Regions from separate parts of the Homo sapiens genome. Here region 2 is linked to region 1. Evidence: promoter capture Hi-C in human tissues and cell types (Jung and others, 2019). All regions are on one chromosome and are shown on one strand. Each heading gives the region's core, a stretch centred on a gene start or on the middle of the fragment in contact. The rest is flanking DNA. Distances are from core to core; before and after follow the strand shown. Region 1 holds the start of CLECL1 (C-type lectin like 1). Region 2 has its middle 84 kb from the start of LINC02367.

Evidence for each region. Contacts are between HindIII fragments. The study calls those that stand out against the background at their distance.
Region 2: a contact is called between a fragment that was not itself captured here and the fragment with the promoter of CLECL1 in region 1, in 1 of the 25 tissues and cell types used here (hippocampus).

Annotation. Positions count from the first base shown.
Region 1 is chr12:9,730,466-9,735,992 of GRCh38, reverse strand. CLECL1 (C-type lectin like 1) reads left to right here and starts at 2,896. Exons shown (of 2, transcript NM_001441815.1): 1 at 2,896-3,044. The coding sequence starts at 2,963. RefSeq lists a silencer at 5,104-5,163. The HindIII fragment of the contact is 7,841 bases long and covers 1-5,406 here.
Region 2 is chr12:9,448,777-9,453,955 of GRCh38, reverse strand. It overlaps the pseudogene OVOS1P. Among named protein-coding and RNA genes, the nearest start is that of LINC02367, 84 kb to the right of the region's middle. The HindIII fragment of the contact is 3,251 bases long and covers 1,340-4,590 here.

The DNA of each region.
Region 1 (5,527 bases), core at 1,647-4,146:
AACATTAGTGATTTTGAATTCATTAACTAAGTCTTTGCGCTGTACATAACAAGGACTCGTTGCCCTGATGCTGCAAAGCCAGTCCTTGATAACCCAACCTGGGGATGATATTGGTGAAAATGATGGAGTAGATCTGCTTTCACCTCTTCTATTCAGCATCATGCTGGAGTTTCTTGCCAAGGGAATAAAACAAGAATACGAAAGGAAGAAGTGAAACTGTCTTTATTTGCAGATAACATGATCTTGCATATCATGTCATCCTAAAACATTCACAACAGCAATAAAAATTAGAGGTAATAAACAAGTTCAGCAAGATTACAGGATAAAAATCAATATAAAATAGTAATAGTGCTTTTACAGACTAGCAATGAACAATCCAAAAATGAAATTTAGAAAAATCTTTGTTTACAATAACATCAAAAATAATAAAATAAAGAATAAGTTTAATAACAGAAGTGTAAGAGTTATTCTGTGAACAATGCAAACCATTTCTGAAATAGATTAAGGAATATCTAAATAAAGGAGAGATTCTGTATTTATGGATTGAAAAAATGAATATTACTCAGTTTGCACTATTCCCAAAATTGATCTGCTGAATCCCAGCTGCCTTTTTCATGGCAGAAATTGACATACTTACCCTAATTTTTTAACACTCTTTTAATACTCTACATGCTAGTAATTTTTTTACTTTTATATGACTAGATCATCAGTCATATTTTTCTTTTTTGAGACGGAGTCTTGCACTGTCTCCAGGGCTGGAGTGCAATGGCGCGACCTCAGCTCACTGCAACCTCTGCCTCCTAAGTTCAACCCATTCTTCTGCCTCAGCCTCCCAGGTAGCTGGGATTACAGGCGTACGCCACCACGCCCGACTAATTTTTTATATTTTTAGCAGATATGGGATTTCACTATGTTGGCCAGGCTGGTCTCGAGCTCCTGACTTCATGATCCGCCCGTCTCGGCCTCCCAAAGTGCTGGGATTACAGGCATGAGCCAGGGCACCCGGCCCATCAGTCATATTTTTCATATGAATAAAAGTCTACTTTTTAGTGAAAAATGATTATTCTCATTCTGGAAAACTGTTATAGCCTAATTATAACATTCAGCATAGCATAACTGATTTGGTAATTCAACACATAATTACTGAGCGGCTGTTATGTTTCACACAAAACTAAGTGATGAAAATAAAAATAATAAAATGTGAGTCTTACCCTCAAAATCTAGACAGCATAGTTGAATTATGGCATGGACTTAGAACTCAGTTATCACTCTTAAAATGTACTGGTTATGCCTTTGGGAGGCTGAGGCGGGCAGATCACGAGGTCAGGAGATCGAGACCACCGTGAAACTCGTCTCTACTAAAAATACAAAATATTAGCCGGGCGTGGTGGCGGGCGCCTGTAGTCCCAGCTACTCGGGAGGCTGAGGCAGGAGAATGGCATGAACCCGGGAGGCAGAGCTTGCAGTGAGCCGAGATCGCGCCACTGCACTCCAGCCTGGGTGACAGAGTGAGACTCCGTCTCAAAAAAAAAAAAATTATTGGTTATGCAACCACCTGCAGATAATAAAACCTCTAAAAGTCAGTTTTTCATGTATGTAGTAGGTATTGTCTAGTCACATACAAACAGTTGGAACAGCCCAGAAAAGGGAGAGAGTGTCATGCAGTCTTAAGAGACAGAGGTCGGTGCTCAAGCCTCATCCAGGGTCAGAAGTTGGTCTTTATAGGAGGGATCCCTAAATGCCACAAAGCCAGGATCTGTTCTCTAGTTATTTAATTAACCTAAGTTAAATTTCTTGGATGAGGGGTAGGGATGGGGTGACTGCAGTTTAGATTAATTCTGCAGAATGCACTTGAGTGGGTATTGAAAAAACCAGTTTTTCCATATGCAGATTTCCAGTTAATCTACTAGTCATAAGCTAATGGATCCTGCCATTTTTCATATCTGACATTTCTATGTCCTATGACGGTTTCACAGGTAGCTAGGCTCTCCTCCATTATTTCCCTCTGTATGGTGTTGGCTGCATTTTTCTCTGATTTTACTTCTTCATCAATGATCACATCTCCATCTACTCTCCATTTTCCAGGAATTAGTTGAAATTTTTCATCAACTAATAGGACCCTGAGCCTTTGTGTTATTGTTTTAGACTAACAAATTTTTATTCACTTAATTCAATTTTAGTGGAATTTTAGAAGAAATAGGAGATAAAATCTATGTTTGCTATGTTGTATTCGATAGTAAATTTCTGAACACCTCATTTTAAAATTAGATTTTTTTCTTTTATGTCATTACCTTGAATTATTTTAACAGAGTTATTTCTGTTTCTTAAATATATATTTTTTAGTTCAGAAGTCCTCTGCATAATTCATGTTTTACCTCAGTTTAATGTTAATATTATAAAGCATACAGGAAAGCAAATAGCTTTCAGAATTTTTAAGGTATTATCTAGACAATACAATGCATTTAGAGAGGAGGATAAAAGACATAGGGCCCCTTTCTGTAACTTTCGTAATAAAATCCCTTCTTTTTCTTGTTCTGTTTCCCAAATAGCTATCCTACTTTGGAGAAGATGCTGGAAATTCAGAGTTTCCGCCAGAGAATATATGCCTGAACTAAAAGAGGAAGTGGTCTATAGGAGAAAATGGTGAGATATCTTCTGTGGTATTAATAAAAGTTAAAAGCATTTCAAGTTTAGGCAGAAAACTAACTGAAAAACGAGAACCTACTGTATGGTTAGTAATTTCTTCCATGTCATACAAGTATTCGAGAAATCTGCTACCTTGATTAGTAAGACTGAACACATTGGTTTTGTCATTTATTCATGGAGGAAGTCCACCACCCACTTGGGGAGCAGAAGGAAATTTGCCATCTCAATTTACTTATCAGAAGTTTCTTTGCAGAAATATGATTGTCCCTTCAGTGGGACATCATTTGTGGTCTTCTCTCTCTTTTTGATCTGTGCAATGGCTGGAGATGTAGTCTACGCTGACATCAAAACTGTTCGGACTTCCCCGTTAGAACTCGCGTTTCCACTTCAGAGATCTGGTAAGCTGGATTTAGGGTGCCTTTGAGAATTAAGATTTTACTAGTTATCTCCTTTATTTCTTTCTTATGTATCTAATTGCCAAACTGAAAAGAGGAGATTGGATTCAAAGCAAAATTCATTGAATGCTAAGAATAAGAGCGAATGTTTTTAATGAAGCAAAATGTCTGTTCATAAAATAAATTGCCACTTTGGTTTTAATATGTAGAACTTTGCTTCTGTTTTCATAGCCTTTCTATTTCTTGATTTCTCGTGATGAATGTTTATATTCACACAGCAACTTCTAGCGGGATCACGCCTTTCTGCTCCACAGCTTTGCTCACTCTCAATCAAATCTGACCTTTTAACATAATGTGATAAATTCATCTCCACTGGGAAAAATACCTGTGGCAATTTACTCATATTGTTATTTATTCTTTTACAATATCAATAGGATAAAAATGTAAACTTAAGAAAACATGAAACGTTAGATTTAATTTTATAAAGTCTAGAATTAATGACTAGGTAATTGAATATTTCTGGAATCAGAGGCGATAAGCATATGCCTAAACTTAACATGGTGCCTTCATCACCAAACCCCCTCAAAAATTATAGATTTTCATAGCCAGTGTCTTTTCTATTCTTTGAAGTATTAAGGAAATTTCTCTGTCTTGTTACATTTCCATTCTCTGCTCTAGGGTAAGAATTTTTGTAGCATAGAGTTTATGTAGGTGTTTTAAATAATTTAAAGTTCCTCCTTTGTATTTGCCCTTGTGGAATGAATCTGCTACTTTGTTCGTATTTCCAAGGAATGTATTTCTTCTTTATATTTTCAAAAGTTTATAGTTATCAAAGGAATCTAGTGTGTGTCCTTTTCTGGTTGTAAAAGCATCTTGTTTCTTATTTTAAACCTTACCTCTCTATTTTACCCAGCAGAGGCTAACTTGCTTTCTTTTCTTCCAGCTTAGGCACTTTCACTTCCTATGAAATAGTGAAACATAATTTGAAAAATAACATGGACTAGAACTGCACTGTCATTCCCCTATGCTTCAAAAATGTCCTGTAGTTAGTTTCTTTTTCTAGAGGTTATTTTACTCAGTTTAAGCAACAAAACCAATATTTTTGATTCCGCATTCCAGGGTTTAATTGCCTTTCTGTCTATGGTTTGAACTTTTATAAATAAAACCTTATTCTTTTCCCAGTTTAGGGATGTGGGGCAACATCTTTTAATGTGATCTAGTTCAATCTTAGAATGCTAAAAATGAGAAAACGAACTATATGAAGATTAAATTACCTACCTATAGTCATGCTTATGACCAGAAGTCAAATATCATATTGTTCTTGTGCTGTATACGTGTGGTGTTAGATAAACGCAACTTTTGTTCTCATGCGTCACTTCGCCATCAAGCGAAAGAGCTGTTGGATAGATTAGATTTTTGTTGTCTTACATACAGAGTCCTACACAATTGTTCCTGATCTCTTCTAACCTCATACCTTTCACTGATTTTGCTCTGGCTATTGGCCTTTTCTTTTCTCCTAAAGGTTGTCATATTCCTTACCATTTCAGAGCCTCATAAAATGCTGAATCTTTCTACATAATCTATTAATCTTTGTGTTTCTAGCACCTCACACCGTACTAAATATAGAGCAGGAAATTAATAGATGCTTGATAAGTAAAATAATTTATAAATGGCTGAATAAATAAATGAATCGCATTAGACGATGAATGTATATATGTATGCTCATTGGTTCTCCAAGATGTAAAGCATAAAGGAATGTCATCAGGAAGCTTAGCAGGACATCAGTGAGAGTGTGTGTTTGAACTGAGAATATCCCAGAAATTTATGCTTTGCTTAAATCTTACTTAGGAGGCCTAAAAGAATGATCAATATCTTTTATGTTAGTCTTTTTATGAAATCTGAAATTTTATTCTACTAAACTTAGGGATCCATAATTTCAGTTCGTCATATTAGTAACATGTGTAGTGGCCAGGCACAATGGCTGACGCCTGTAATCCCAACACTTTGGGATGCCGAGGAAGGAGGATCGCTTGAGCCCATGAGATTGGTACCAGCCTGGACAACACAGAGAGACCTCATGCCTACCAAAAATTTTAAAAACGAGCATGGTGACACGTGCCTGTATTCACAGCTACTCAGGAGGCTGAGGCAGTAAGATTGCTTGAACCTGGGAGGTGGAGGTTGCAGTGAGCAGTGATCATGCCACTGCACTCTAGCCTGGGCAACAGAACAAAAGCCTATCCAAAAAAAAAAGAAAAGAAAAAAAGAAAGAAAAAGAAACGTGTAGTGACATCACCACATTCTTTCTGTGACTGACTTGACTCCCACAATTTTGACTGTTTTGTCTGATGAGTGAAAATATGTGGACTTCTTTTAATGTTTTGAAAATTAACAAATTCCTATTAAAGATGTTTTAATTAATAGCAATAATAATCAGCACATAAAACAATGCACTCAATAATAATCTACCAAATAAACATTCCATT
Region 2 (5,179 bases), core at 1,716-4,215, 280 kb after region 1:
CTACACCATTTTACATTCCCACCAGCCATGTACAAATTTCTAATTTCTCTATATCCTTGCCATCATTTATTTTTTGTTTTGCTCCTTTTGGGTTGAGGTTTTTTCTTTCTTCTTTTTTTTTGAGACAGGGTCTTGCTCTGTCACCCAGGCTGGAGTGCAGTGGTGCAATTATAGCTCACTACAGCCTTGAACTCCTGGGCTCACACAATCCTCCTACCTCAGCCTCTTGGGTAGCTGGGACTACAGGTGTGTGCCACGATTACCCCCTAATATTTTTTTAAATTTTTTGCAGAGATCTGGTCTCACTATGTTACACAGGATGGTCTTGAACACCTGCCCTCAAGTTATCCTCTCGCTTCAGCTTCCCAAAGTGCTGGAATTGCAAGTATAAGCCACTGTGCCTGGCTGTGTGTGTGTGTGTGTGTGTGTGTGTGTGTGTGTGCAATAGTAGCCATCCCAGTGGATTGCAGTGGTACCTCATCGTGGCTTTGAGTTGCATTTTCCCAGTGACTGGGATGTCGAGCATCTTTTCATGTGCCTGTGGGCCATTTGCACATCTTTTTTTGGAGAAATATCTATTTAAGTATTTTGCCCATTTTTTTAATCAGATTGTTTTCATGTTGCTGAGATACAGAAGTTCTTTATATATTCTGGTTATTAACCCCTTATCAGATAGATGATTTACAAATACTTGCTCCCATTCTGTAGGCTGCCTTTTCACTCTGTTGATCCTGTCCTTCAATGCACAGAAGTTGTAACTTTTGTTGTTGTCCAATTCATCTATTTTTATGTTATTTTACAAATCCCTCAACTCATCATCAATTTTTTTGTTGCCTGTGCTTTTTGGTGTCATAGCCAAGGAATCATTGCCAAATGCAATGTCATAAAGCTTTTCCCCTCTGTTTTCTTCTACCAGTTTTATAGTTTTATAGCTTTTAACTTTAATTTTTAACTTCATTTTAACTTTAGAAAATCCATCTTAAGTTAATTTGGATATATTGTATAAGACAAGGATCCTACTTCATTCTTTTATATGTGGATACCTCCTTCTTTTTGGAAACTTTTCCTTTCAGTAATCTTACTACCTCCACAGCTTTAGTTTAGATGTTTTTTGTTGTTGTTGTTGTTTCCCAGGGGTGATCAAATCCATATATCCAGCTTTTACCACCTTCCTCAGTTCTAGTCCCCCCATTTTCAAACACCACTGAAAATTTAGTTTGACTAAGTACATCAACCTATTATGTGAAGAAACAACATGTCCCACCCCCACTACGGTGTGGCTTAATGAGCTAAAGTAACATATCAAGATAGACATAATAATCCAAGAAACTGGGGTTCAGAGAAGTAAATATTATTAGGGTGCATCTTGCGCTGTTCCACAGTGAGGCATATAGGGTTTTGGGGACAGAACAATCTAGTCTCTAATAATGTTTTCTCTTATAGCACAGGCACATTTCATGAGCCTTTCCCACTACCTAGGTGTTCCAGTTTGGATGTGGTTTGTTTGGCCTAAGTCTCATGTTGAAATCTGATTTCCAGTGTTGGAGGTGGCGTCTGGTGGGCAATGTTTGGACCATGGGGGTACATCCCTCATGAAAGGCTTGCTGCCCTTATGGCAGAAGTGACTCAGTTCTCACTCTTAGTTCCCGAGAGAATTGCTTGTTGAAAACAAACTTGTACCTCCTACATGCTCTCCTTCTAGAAGAGGATCTAAGGAAATTTATAATAAAAGCAGAGGAACGCTGAAACCAAACCCAATTCATATCAGTAATAGCTACCATTTGTTAAGCTTCCACAATGACATGTAAGATGTTAAGCCCTTTATGTTACCAGGATTATCTCACTTATCTCATAAGAATTCTAGAACATAGGTCCTATTATTATCTTTATTTTATTCGTGAGAAAAGCAGAGACTCAGAAGGCTTAAGTCATAGGCCAAGGTCATTCAGCCAGTTGAATGGTGGAGTGGGGAATATCTGGATCCAGGCAGTCAGACTTTTTTTTTTTTTTTTTTTTTTGAGACGGAGTCTCGCTCTGTCGCCCAGGCTGGAGTGCAGTGCCGTGATCTCGGCTCACTGCAAGCTCCGCCTCCCAGGTTCACGCCATTCTCCTGCCTCAGCCTCCCAAGTAGGTGAGACTACAGGCACCCACCACCACGCCCGGCTAATTTTTTTTTTTTTGTATTTTTAGTAGAGACGGGGTTTCACCGTGTTAGCCAGGATGGTCTCGATCTCCCGACCTCGTGATCTGCCCACCAGGCAGTCAGACTTTATTAGAAAATGCACTTAAAATTAGCAAGAAGGAATGAGAACAACAACAACAAAATTAAAAAATGCTTGCCGAAGAAAACTAAAACAATGTACAATATTTAGCCCTGAGATCACTAGCAGTGAAGGCAAAGAAGAATGCATAATGGGTTTCTATAGCTCTTACTGTCCGGTTATAGAAAATATTTCTACATTAGTACAAGCACTTTTCTTCCTAAGCCCTGAGTTTTGAGAGTTTATCAAGAAGGCCTCTGAGTTCATTCAATTAATGGCATCATCTAAGGCTGTTTAATAACAAATGCAGAGGTAGTCCACATAAGGAACTTTTGCCTTTACCTTTGAGACAAAGCCCAGGGCCTCACGTTAGGAGTACAGCTCTCTAAATATAAGCCTCCAGGGCAGAAGCGAGGGGAGGATGGAGGGACACAATGCAGATTTACAGCCTGGTGGGTACGGCCTTTGTCCTCTCCATGTCTATTGTCACTCTTGAGGTCTAAGCCTCTACTGCACTGCTTGGTTTACTGCACAACCCAACTTGGCTGCTTGCTTCTGGTCTCTCCAAACCATCCTTCACACTGCTTCCAGCTTACTATTTCCAAGACACTGCATTTGCAAATCCACTCCTCTGTTTAAAAATGTTTCAGTGACTTGCAACTTGTCTACAGTGTGAAGTATAAATTTATTAGCTTGTTGTTTAAAGCCTTCTACAACCAGACCCCGACCGACCTTCACGTCCTATTGAGAGGTGACAGCCTGCTGGCAGCCCTCGCAACCCTGGCTCGCTCTTGGCGCCTCCTCGGCCTTGGCACCCACTCTGGCCGCGCTTGAGGAGCCCCTCAGCCCGCAGCTGCACTGTAGGAGCCCCTTTCTGGGCTGGCCAAGGCCGGAGCCAGCTCCCTCAGCTTGCAGGGAGGTGTGGAGGGAGAGGCGCAGGCGGGAACCGGGGCTGCGCTCGGCGCTTGCGGGCCAGCGCGAGTTCCCGGTGGGCGTGGGCTCGGCGGGCCCCGCACTCGGAGCGGCCGGCCCGCCAGCCCGGGGCAGTGAGGGGTTTAGTACCTGGGCCAGCAGCTGCCGTGCTCCATTTCTCGCCGGGCCTTAGCTGCCTCCCCGCGGGGCAGGGCTCGGGACCTGCAGCCCACCATGACTGAGCAGCCCGCCATGACTGAGCCGCCCGCCGGCGCCCCAGCCATGGGCTCCTACGCGGCCGGAGCCTGCCCGACGAGCGCCGCCCCCTAATCCGCGGTGCCCAGTCCCATCAACCCCCAAAGGGCTGAGGAGTGCCGGTGCACAGCGCGGGATTGGCAGGCAGCTCCACCTGCTGCCCCCTGCCGCATCCACTTGGTGAAGCCAGCTGAGTTCCTAAGTCTAGTGGGGACCTGGAGAACCTTTATGTCTAGCTAAGGGATTGTAAATACACCAATCGGCACTCTGTATCTAGTTCAAGGTTTGCAAACACACCAATCAGCACCCTGTGTCTAGCTCAGGGTTTGTGAATGAACCAATTGGCACTCAGTATCTAGTTAATCTGGTGGGGACTTGGAGAACCTTTGTCTAGCTAAGGGATTGTGAATGCACCAATCGGCACTCTGTATCTAGCTCAAAGTTTGTAAATGCACCAATCAGCACTCTGTGTCTAGCTCACGGTTTGTAAATACACCAATCGACACTCTGTATCTAGCTAATCTAGCGGTGACCTGGAGAACTTTTGTGTCTAGCTCAGGGATTATAAACGCACCAATCAGCACCCCGTCAAAACGGATCAATCAGCACTCTGTAAAACAGACCAATCAGCTCTCTGTAAAATGGACCAATCAGCTCTCTGTAAAATGGACCAATCAGCAGGATGTGGGTTGGGCCAGAGAAGAGAATAAACACAGGCTGCCCTAAGCCAGCAACAGTAACTCACTGGGATTGTCTTACCAGAGTATAGAAGCTTTGTTCTTTTTGTTTTTTAGGTCTGCACTGCCTTTACGAGCTGTAACACTCACTGTAAATGTCTGCAGCTTCACTCCTGAAGCTAGTGAGAGCACGAACCCACCGGGGTGAACGAGCAACTCCAGTACACGCCGTCTTAAAAGCTGTAACACTCAGGCGAAGGTCTGCAGCTTCACTCCTGAGCCAGCAAGACCACAAACCCACCAGAAGGAAAAAACTCCGAACCTATTGGAACATCCGAGGGAACAAACTCCAGACACACCGCCTTTATAAAACTAACACCGTGAGGGTCTGTAGCTTCTGTCTTGCGTTAGTGAGACCAAGAACTCATCAATTCTGGACACACTATCAACTTTCTGTTTCTCCAAGGGTGCTTCTTAAACTGGATGATTCACACCCTAGGAGTGTGTGTGTAGAATGGGGTTTGAAGCAGTAGGGTAAAAAACCTAGCGTACCTTCTATTCCAGAGGTGTCAATTTACCAGACAACAGTTATTTTAAAAATTTTTTATGCAAAAACATGTTATAGGGTGGAATGCAACATTTTTATGAGTTTGTGGGCCATTTGTATACATCTTTGGAGAAATGGCTATTTAAATACTCTGCCCATTAATTCTAAACTTAAAACTACGACTCCAAAGACCCTCTAAGGATTTTGCTGGGCCACATCCCAAGACCCTGAAGGGTATTACTCGCCCTCTCCAAACTGCCGAAGTCGGAAGCAGGTGACAAAAAAGCTGACCCTGGAATCACCTTTCGCAAATTTCCCACCTCCAAGCTTTTCGATAGTTTGTAACACTGGCTCCTCTCCCCAAAAGCCTTCCCTTCAAGTCCCAGCGACTCTCCCTGACCCTGCTGGGAAGGCGCACCAATTACCTGTCATTCCAGGAAAGCTCATAGCATAAGATGATCCCATTGGTCATCTCCCAGAACCAGACTTTCTGAAAAGTCCTTAAGGACCAGCTAGTCCAATCCCTC